Linked DNA regions of Homo sapiens: region 1 is linked to region 2. Evidence: promoter capture Hi-C in human tissues and cell types (Jung and others, 2019). All regions are on one chromosome and are shown on one strand. The core of a region is centred on a gene start or on the middle of the fragment in contact, and the rest is flanking DNA. Distances in the headings are between cores, read along the strand shown. Region 1 overlaps DGKB (diacylglycerol kinase beta). Region 2 holds the start of ETV1 (ETS variant transcription factor 1).

Evidence for each region. The method cuts DNA at HindIII sites, captures the fragments that hold promoters and counts their contacts. A contact is called where the count stands out against the background at its distance.
Region 1: a fragment that was not itself captured here is called in contact with the fragment with the promoter of ETV1 in region 2 in 3 of the 25 tissues and cell types used here (dorsolateral prefrontal cortex, lymphoblastoid cells and mesenchymal stem cells).

The regions. Positions count from the first base shown.
Region 1 is chr7:14,675,191-14,680,227 of GRCh38, reverse strand. The region is part of intron 12 of DGKB (diacylglycerol kinase beta); the gene reads left to right. Among named protein-coding and RNA genes, the nearest start is that of DGKB, 230 kb to the left of the region's middle. The HindIII fragment of the contact is 4,743 bases long and covers 898-5,037 here.
Region 2 is chr7:13,988,365-13,993,582 of GRCh38, reverse strand. It overlaps ETV1 (ETS variant transcription factor 1), which reads left to right and starts at 3,917. Exons shown (of 14, transcript NM_004956.5): 1 at 3,917-4,020; 2 at 4,119-4,315; 3 at 4,444-4,575. The coding sequence starts at 4,531. RefSeq lists an enhancer at 1,896-2,397. The HindIII fragment of the contact is 5,948 bases long and covers 536-5,218 here.

The sequences.
Region 1 (5,037 bases), core at 2,020-4,519, 690 kb before region 2:
TAAGTCAATTAATCAATCTCAAAGCTCTATTTAGGAAACAAGGCTAACCAGGGATCTCTGGTGGAGTTAAGGCAGAGTCAGAAAGAAAAAAAAAGGCTGCCCTCTTACTAAACTCTCTAAAGTCCTGAGACTTTTATCCATCCTCAGCCTTATTTTCTATAAACAATGAGCTTTAGGGGTCTTATGGGTATTAAGTTCATAAAACACAACTTGTGCAAATTTTTAAAAAGTTATCATATATCCAGGAGACTCTATCAGTTTCTCAAAAGTCACTTCAGCCTCCATCCAGTTCCGGATTTTTAATTTTAAGCAATTTTAGGGACACATTTACTTAATTATTGATTTTGTGCCTTGGTTAAACAGGATATATTTACCTCAGAACATTTATGTATTTAGTAGTATTTATAGTTTTCTATTGAACCATTGCATGAAAATTTCAGCATAAAATTGATCTGCTCTTGACTGATGAGTATCTACTACTACTGCTTGCCTTTAAACAACTGAATGTACTTTCTTTTGCTCTTACACTTTCCAGAAAGTACTATGGACATAACAAAGAGCTAGCAGAAGTTATGGGAGTAATGGGATATGGCACTGCCAGTGCTGGCTTCAGAAAGGCCTATCTGAAATTCGGGTTCCGTGAAGAATATATTGTAGAGAGAAACAGAAAGAATGATGCTTGGCTTTCTTTCAGGGTTTGTCCAAAAGCCATTACTTCCTTTTATATATGACTTTTGGAAATGATTTGACTGTTGCAACTCAGACCAACCAGATTCTTAAGATCGTCTCCTCACTTACTAGTTGTGCCATCTTGGGCCATTTATGTAACCAGTTTAGACAAATTTCCTAATGTGTCAAATGGAGTTAATGATACCTAAGTTATTAGATTATTATGAGGATTAAAGGGGCAAAAAATTCTCTGTAGATATGTTTAGGACAAGACCTCATACATATTAAGTGCTTAGTAAGTAACAATTATATTTGTGGGTATTATGAAATACATAAATACATTTGGGTGCACATAAACCAATCCCTGGTTTTCCAGAGGGCACTCCATGAAGAACACTTACGTCATTTCTCTCTCTCCTGTAGAAGGATGGATAGTTGTCCAGTCTGAGTCAGAACAGCACCTGCATGCACTCAAAAAAACATCCAGAATCCTGTGGTCCTGAATCTCACTAAATCCTAAGCCCAACTGACTGATTTTTATTCCCAAAGACTGTTACTACAACTCTCTCATTCTATCAGACCTGGTATTGTCATGCTTCCAGTCACTGGAAAAAAAGTTTGAAGTCAATTTTTTTTACTCTTGTCTTTTACCTTTATCTCTTGTACACAACCTGTCACTGAGTCTTGTCATTTCCTACTTAAAATATCTCTCTCAGATTTGAGGTTTTGTCTCCACATTCGCAGCCCTAGTGCAAGCTCTTAGCACCTCTTGACTAGATTAGAGTCAAAATCTCTTGGCTCATCTCCCTAACAGAAGGTACTTTTCCTATAATGCAGGCTGCATACCACCTCCAGAAAGATCTTCTGAAAATACTAGTTTGTTATATGCCTTCTTTAGCAATCTATAATAGTTCTGTGATAATAAATGCAGCCCTCAACACCCCTTGCATCAAGTTGGTTTTTAGTTCTTTAGAAATCAGAATCAAACCTAAACATAACTGTATATAATATTCCTCTTCTACACACACCCTCTGCCATAGCTGTGTATTTCTGTTGGCAGTCCCTTGGGGAGGCCATGTTTCCCTCATGCCTACTATTTTGTTCATCCCGGTCCCTTGAATGCACCTGTCTTAAATTCTAATCATACCTTAGGAAACAAGTTAGGTTACCTGTCTTCCTTGAAATTTTTCTTGACGCTAATATATCTTGATTCTGAATAGTTTCTGTACTTACATTCCACATCCAAAGGAAAAACTCAAATGCTCTCCATTGGTTTCACACCATAGTCTAACATCGTTTGCACTGTTAACTGTGGCCCGCTCCTGTTGCTTGTCCATGTCACACATTTTTTCCTAATCACCTGAAGTTCTTGACAAAGTACTGAGTGTAGAAAAGTCTTCAGTAAGATCACTTTAATCTCTGATATGCTATTCTTACAGTAGAATATTAAATTTCAAACATATGTACTATTTAAGTTTTGTTTTATAATATCATCCTGTAATACTCAAATCTCCATCAGATATGCAAGTAAACTTAAACAAATACTTAAGAATCAATTTTCACACCCATTTTTCAGTTCATACTTGCAGTTTCTTGATTTACTAGTTGGCTATCTTGTAGATATAAAGTTAGGCTCTTAGAATGAAATTTTCTGTTCATTTGTAAATCTAGCCACTTCAAAATTAAAAATACGAAAAGCTTAGGAAAGATCAGTGGAAAACTGCCTTCTGATAATTAGGCAACCAGTCTCTGTGTTTTATATTTCAATCCTCTGTGACAGGCAAAATATTCACCTCAGTTCTCTTTTCTGTCTTGATTACTAACATCCTTAATATCCCACTGCTTATACCTGTTCATTTCTTCTGAAACTGTGTTTTCTTGACCTTCGTTGTATAACATGTTGTGAATCATTGCTTGTCAAGGTAAGCTCTCACTGGTCAGGCAGGACTCACCAGGATGGGAAGTTGAGGGATTTTATTTAGGCTTGAAAAAATAACACCTATTTCATAAAAATGAATTACTAACTTTTGCTATGATATAGAGATAATATTGTTTATTAAGATACTAAATTCCTAACAGTAATGTTTAAAGGTTTCCAATGCCATGGAAACATTTCTGCTTCAGTAAATGCCAGTCTTAGGAAGTACCCCAAACTGCAAAATATTAGGGGCCAGTGTAACAGGTGAACCAGTAAATATGTGCCTCCAAATCAGGTCTTCAAATTTTTCTTTAGAAAAGTAGCTTATTTCTCTTCTTATTTTCCTCTAAATTCCTATGAACACTTATTTTCCATTTTTCCTCCTTTTGACTTCTCAGATCCCATTTTCTTCTCTGACCAGCGCAGCCACTCTTCCTAACTCCATCCATAGAACTATATGCTGGCACACATGCACACAGACATCCACACACTTTCTTTTTCTTTCTATCTTGAGACAGCTTTTTCTAATAAACATAGATCTGGCTCTAAATTAGGTGCTACTGGAAGTTGTCATAAACTCTGAAATTATTTCCAAGTGTTTAATTCACTTCCAGGAAAAGCTGGTTTCTATTATATGATTTTCCTACATATGGCACTGAATCCCTTAACATGAATGGGAATTTCTGGATGTATATTTAAAAATGAGCTAAGGATTTCTATGCCTTGGCTTGAAAAAAATACAAAGATAACTGAACAAAAATGTTTTTTTAAATTTTAAATAGTAAACATTTGATTTTCTCTGGTGCGCTATTGGTTATTTTACTAAAGAGGCAGCATCTTCAATGCTGTAGTTCATTTCTATTCTTGATGAGGACCCTGGTGTTTAGGATTTTGCTGATTTGGGATATAGGTTATCTTTAAAACAATAGTCAGCCTTCAGCATCTTATTTACACTGAGAAGGACCCAGCTGTGTCTTTTTCTTATATTCTTGTCCACGAAATATGATGATAAGTTTAAGCAACTTTCTATTGTTGATGATATTCACTTATTTAATTTTTTTATTTTTAATTTTGTGGGTACTTAGTAGGTATATACATTTATGAGGCACATGAGATGTTTTGATACAGGCATGCAATGTGAAATAAGCACATCATGGAGAATGGGGTATCCATCCTTTCAAGCATTTATCCTTTGAGTTGCAAACAATCCAATTACCTTCTTTTAGTTGTTTTAAAATGTACAATTAAATTATTACTGACTGTAGTCACCCTGTTGTGCTATCACATAGTAGGTCTTATTCATTCTTTCAAACTATAAAAAGCTTTTCATTGAAGGAAAGTGTACATACAGAAAGGCATTTATATCCAAAGGGCAGAGCCCAATGAATTTTCCCCACATGAATGTTCTGTAAGCAGTACCTGATCAGGAAACAAAATATTACCAGTATCTTAAAGAAAAAAAATTTGTAGCTTTTGAATTCTATTGTATAATTTTGTTGATTTTTGCTTTTTAAAATAGACTTTATGATTTAGAGCAATTTTAAGTTCACAGCAAAGATGATATTCACTTTTACACTTTATAGGTGGTCCTGAAAATGATACACATTTTTCACATTGGCTTTCACATTGTATATTTTTTCCTCAAGTATATCTCCAAGAAATATGATGCATAAACTAAACCTGTCATACAAATTTGATTCACGACTTGTAAAATGATCCGTACTCCTAACATGATGCCCTCAGTTTTAACACTCTTGGCTACAAACAACGTCATAATGTTGATGGTTAAGAAAATGTATTTATTAGCTGCCAGATTCTAGTCTTAATACAAGCATAAGGTATTCCTGCATATTATCAAATATAGACTTCTTGGTTAGGAGAATTTTCTTGCATTGTGTGACTCTGTTTAACAGATGATAGTATGGTTACTAAACTTATAGATCCTCCTATGTCTTGGGGAGTGCCTTACGACCGCCTAGACAAAACTCAGGACCACAGCGGCAATCAAACTGGGAAATCCCATACTAGATTTATTTGGCTCTGCAAAGACCAGAATTTCATGGAATCAACTGTCAGTACCTATGCTCTGAAACTCCCAAATCCCAATATACAGAGTTGCCCCTTCACACACACTCTGGTAAGCTCATCTATTGCATGATTCTATCTGAGTCTTCGATTCTTTCCTTCCTTCTGGGAAACTAGCCTAAATGCCCCCAAACTATCATCAAATTAATTTTATTTTTGTCATCCTTTCTTACATCAGTAACCCTCAAATAACTATACAGAGAGCTTAGTCGTCCTTTACCATGTCAGTTGCAAATTGTTGGAAACACATGGATGGAGGTGTGGAGGAGGCTGAGGCCTCTGACTGCATCTGTAGTCAGCGTTGGCATAAGACTCAGTATGTCCTGCCCCTGTGGCCTTCAGAGTCACGTGTTTAGCTTTACACT
Region 2 (5,218 bases), core at 2,668-5,167:
GGTGCAGTTAAAAGTTTTTTTTTCCACATTTATAAGTTGTTTGCAATTCCTCTACTTGAGGGAGTTTACAGATAGTCACCAGCTGAAAATGGCAGTATTGAGAGTGAGAGAGTATACAGCTACATAGTATCAGTTTCCTTGATACCCTTACCTTCTTCCCAGGCTCCACCCTCCTCTCAAATTTCTGCTACTCCTCACATACAGTGTTCCTGAAGCCACTGATTATCTTTCACCCTCCTGTGAGGACTCTATGTTCTCCTTTGGAATTATTTTCACTTGTTCATTTTCTTGGCCAATTTTGCTGTTTAATTTTATATCTTTTTCTTATCTATTTGATGTAACTGTGCAAACTAGATCTTTAACAATTTGCCTTACATACTGTTTTAATACAACAAATTTTAAAAGTTACTGTTTTACTTAATACTCTACTCAATTTTGAGCAAACTTCATTTGATTTTAATTATAGCAACCATTTAAAACAAGCAGCGCCATTTTAGCTTGTTGCCTTTCTGTAACTGCTTTTAGAAATTCACTTTCTTTAACAACGTGCAATTTCTTCATAATGCCATAGTAAGTTAACTGTAGAGAAGTCACTAATGAATATTATTTTACTTTATTAAATAACAGCAAGGGAAATATAAAAATTTAAATAGTTTTACATGCAACCTAAAAACTTTCCAAACTCAAAAATGGACTTTTTTTTGGAGGGGGGTAGCTTTCTCTCAAGAACTCTTATTTCAAAATCCAAATGGGATTTCAAAATACAAGCAAATAAATGTCAAAGCCTCTTGGCCTCTGCTCTGCCATTCTATGCCTGAAATCCTGCCAAAATGAAATTTTCCGTTCAAAAGGGCTGGCATTTACTAAACTGATGTTTTAAAGACATTCTCAAAAAGTAGTGGAAACTTTGTCCAGCTTTTTATGTTCCTGTCTTGTAGACAGAACAGCTGCCTTTGCAGATATTTTCCAAGATCTTACATTTTCTGAAAAACAAATTTTCAGCCCTTCCACTGTCTTCAGCAAGTGGGTCTATTGGTTTTTCCCAGTGCCAAGCAGAGAAGATAAACAACTGCCAAACTAGAAGCTAGTGTCTGAGTATCAAGGCATAGAAAGGACAGAAGAGATAGTGTTTCAGTAAGTATCAATGCAGAGAAAGGACAGAAGAGAAAGTGGGAGAAAGAAAAGAGGGTGGTTCAATCGTTCACAGTCAAGAGGGACACATTTATCTCAAAATTTTAGGCTGTTTCAACAAAACCGAGCTGTAGCGAGACTAGCTGCTTATTCACACGAGAACATCATTTTCAGTTACTATGAAGATCAAAGAGTTAAAAGATATGAGTTCGTTTAAAGAACTCAAAAGGGAAAATATGAAGCCACCGCAATACGTAGTAAAATCTGAGGCTTAACAGCGCAGCGCCTGAGAGTGCCAGTCCACTAAAGGGAGGGAGAAGGGGCGCAGAGCTTATGGGGGCCTGGGAAGGAGTGATAAGTCTTTGGAAATGGAAACTAAAGCTATCAGCCAGCGAAAACCATCAATATTCCTAAAAATATATAATACTAATAATACATAAAAGCTTTAAAAAACTAACAAGACACTGTGGGATACAAAAAAAGGTAGAAATGAAAATTACAGAATGTTAAGTGAAAAAACTGAAATCCATCTACAGTCGAACAGTTTGCACCTTTAAAAGCAATGACTTGAAGCAGCAAGCAAAAGTTCCCAGTCCTTAAGACTTTCTCCCCACTCTCAATTCTTTCTTTCCTCTAGTGCAAAAGCTGTCTAAGCAGTGCACGCCGGAATTATCCCCACGTGAGCCTTCCTTTAATTTCGGTCTTAATTTTTTTCTCTCTTGTTATTACTCCCAGACCCCAACCTCTTTTTCCTCATCTAGTATCTGTTTCAGGGACAGGACAAAGAGGAGGCAGCGAGCTGAAAAAAGTTTTGTGGTTTGGGATACTTGGGCCTTTGTTGTGTCATTTCCTCTACCCCTCCACGCCCCCAACCACGTGACCAAGAAGGGCCGGAATTTTGTGAATGGAGACGAAAGGTGGCTGTTGGGGCGGGCGGGACTCCGCCCCCTTCCCTAAAGCGGCCAATCTCCTAGCGGAGCGCTGAGGGGTCAGCAATAAACAACAATGGGCTGGGGATTTACGGCTCGTTATTGGCTGCGGGAAGAACCTCGCCGGGACCTAACCCGAAGCTCCGCCCCCTCGCGGTTACCCTGGATACCCGTCAGGCTCGGGCTGCAGAGAAGGTCTTTGGAAACTGTTGCTCAGATTACAGGCGCTGGGTTATTCCAGGAGTGCAGGGTGGTGGAGGACCCTTGTTATTGACCCCCTGCTTGGTTGCACCCTCAGATAGTACCCATGAGCTTCACTGTTCAGCCTCGGGGCCCAGGCGCTTCCTGGAATCTCTCCTTGGCCGGGGTTAAAATGCAGTTCCCGCTCAAAATGCTTATAGGTGCGCGCGTTGTGAACTCCGATTTAGTAGTTTCCGGGAATGCGCGGGGTCTGTCTTTGCTGTCCATAGTTATTGGTTGTTTTCCCAGTAATAAGTGTTGATTGTTTGTTTGTTTGCTTCTTTTTTAAGTAGATCTTTCTCCTGCCCAGGTCCGGGGTTGAGTGCTGTGCGCTCTTACACTCCATTTTAATGTGTCTCCATAACGTTCTATTTAAGGAAGGAAACTTTCAAATAGAAATTGAGAACTGCAGCACGTTTCCTAACGGGCGGAACAGCTGCCGGAAACGTCTTTTGGTCACTAGTTCTGGTCACAAATGAATTTCAACAGCATTGAGTCCCTGGTCCTATCCCCGCGGCCTCCCGTCCGCTGTTGGACACTGGCTCCTTAAAGTGACGCTTTACTGTTCTGAGTCCCATAGGAGGATCAGGGCAAGTGGCTTCAGAGATGCAGCCCTCACTGCTTAACGTCCTAGTTATTGTCCTTGAAACCCGAGCCATCTCACCGCTCGCCCCCAACCCTGGGCTCTGGCTGTTTAAAAGCTGGAGAGGAAGTGAAAGCGTCAAGTACAGTAAGTGACACCCTCCGCCTCCGTGTATACATAACAAAAGCTCAGGAAACGTGCGGGTTCTAGGATATACGAGCAACCCCAAGCACTCCCTCCTCCTCCCCACAGCCACAGTGGACTGGAAGTACCTTTTCCCAGTGCACACGTAGGGACCATTTTGACTTATACTTTTTCACCTAGCTTGCTCTGTTGTCCTCCCATCACAACCTCTGCTAATCAGCAATTCTGCATCTCCTAGGTGCCTTCCTTATAGATTCTTTATGTTTCTGTCCCACGAACGATAGGATCTAATTTTAGTTGAGGATGACTGTTTAAAAAATGTTTCGATAAACCATAATGGTGATGGTGGGTTTTGAAAAACGGGAAAATAAATTGGGCCAAAAGCTGAGTGGGAATGAGGATAGAGAGCGAGGTGAGCTCCTAGTCAGGGCAAGAGTAGAGAGGTTGGAGATCCTGAGGGGAGGGCAGCTGAATAAGGCGGTACGGGCTTTGTGGATCGCGGCTCTAAGGGTATACCAGAACCGCACAACAGTACTTTAAGGAAACCAGCCCAATAGTGGACCTAACACCCCAATAATGGGAACTGGCGACTCGAAACACACGGTTTCAGTATCCCCAGGCGCCTTAACAATAAGCAGCGGGTTACAGAGGAAATCGAGTCTCTCCGTGGCGCTTCCAGGCTGAGGACCCAGCGCCTACCGGCCGAGCACCCCCTAGGGCAGAGGGGCGAGGGAGACCCGCGGGAAGGGGCAGCAAGCCGCCTGATTGACAGCCCGAAATCTGATCTTGTGAAAGAGACGCGGAGCCAATGGGAGGCAGCGATCCATCAGTTTGGATTGGAGGCCCCTGGAGGAGAAGTAGAGGAAAAACCACCGAATTGAGCTCTGTCAGAGGCGCTTTCGGCTTCCAAGGGGGAAGTGCTGGGCTATAATTAATGTTTTTATTAAATTTGGAGGGAAGTTTTTGCAGCCTTTCGCCTAGCGTGGCCTTCAGGTGGGTCTTTCCAACAACTTTTTATGTCTCTCCAGATAATTGCATGGTTGTGGGTCGCAAAAACTATCCTGATGAAAGAGGTGTCTCCGTCTCTTTAGTCCCGTTAGGTGCAAAGCAAGTCTCGTTGATCGCCATTGCTAGTTTTGCACACGTTTGCGAATCAGAGCTGCCCGGGGTACACCGACCGCGCAGGGAAACATCGAGAGTGTAAATAAATACATCGCCTCTTGTTCGGATTTTTGCTACTACCGAAAATATGTAAATTGTGAACTCTGTTGGCTCTCTTTGGATCCAGGTGAAGGAGGCGGTGTAGGGAGGGTTATTTTTGTGAATGGGACTGTCGGAGGGTAATTAGCTATGCAAATTCAAGAGCTTCATTCATGATTTTTTTTTAAGCCTAAAAGCCATCTTGTTCCCCTCTAGGTTGATAGAAGTCCAGATCCTGAGGAAATCTCCAGCTAAATGCTCAAAATATAAAATACTGAGCTGAGATTTGCGAAGAGCAGCAGCATGGATGGATTTTATGACCAGCAAGTGCCTTACATGGTCACCAATGTGAGTGATCAGTTTGAAAGTTGCTGTTTATAAACTTGACTCCGTCGGGGGTGGGGAGAGGGAGAAAATGAGAAGGGAGGGGGCACGGGGGTTGGGATTGCAGATACTTATCTGCTTTGTTGCCACTGTAGGGCGACTCTGCTTCTAGAAGCCCAGTCTTCAAAATGAGCTTACCTTTCAGTGATTTGGATAAGGCATAGTTTTGTTTTTAAGACCCCTTTTTCTGATTAAAGTGCCCAACATGAGTGGAAGAGGAGATGGAGGGCAGCAGCAGCTGCTGCACTCAAAGTTTTTGGCTGGGTTTGTCTGCCACATTGAAAAGAATGAAGTTGAGACAAATGCTGACACTTTTTGTTTATATGGGGTGTTTTTGTTTCTTTTTTTTTTCTCATTTTCTCTTTTTTTTTTTTTTCATTTCTCTACTCTTTTTGCTTTTTTTTTTTGTGGGGGTGGGGTGGGGAGGAGGGGCTGTCCAAGAGAGAATAAAACCCACTGTTTTAATCTAGCATTGAACCAGCCTAAAAACAACTTTAAGTGTAAATGCTTCAGGTTGTTTTGATGCTGAGATACCATGAATATATGATTGATAAATAGTAATGTGCTAAGATCGGCACTGGGAAGCAACTCTCCCTGCCTGCTTAAC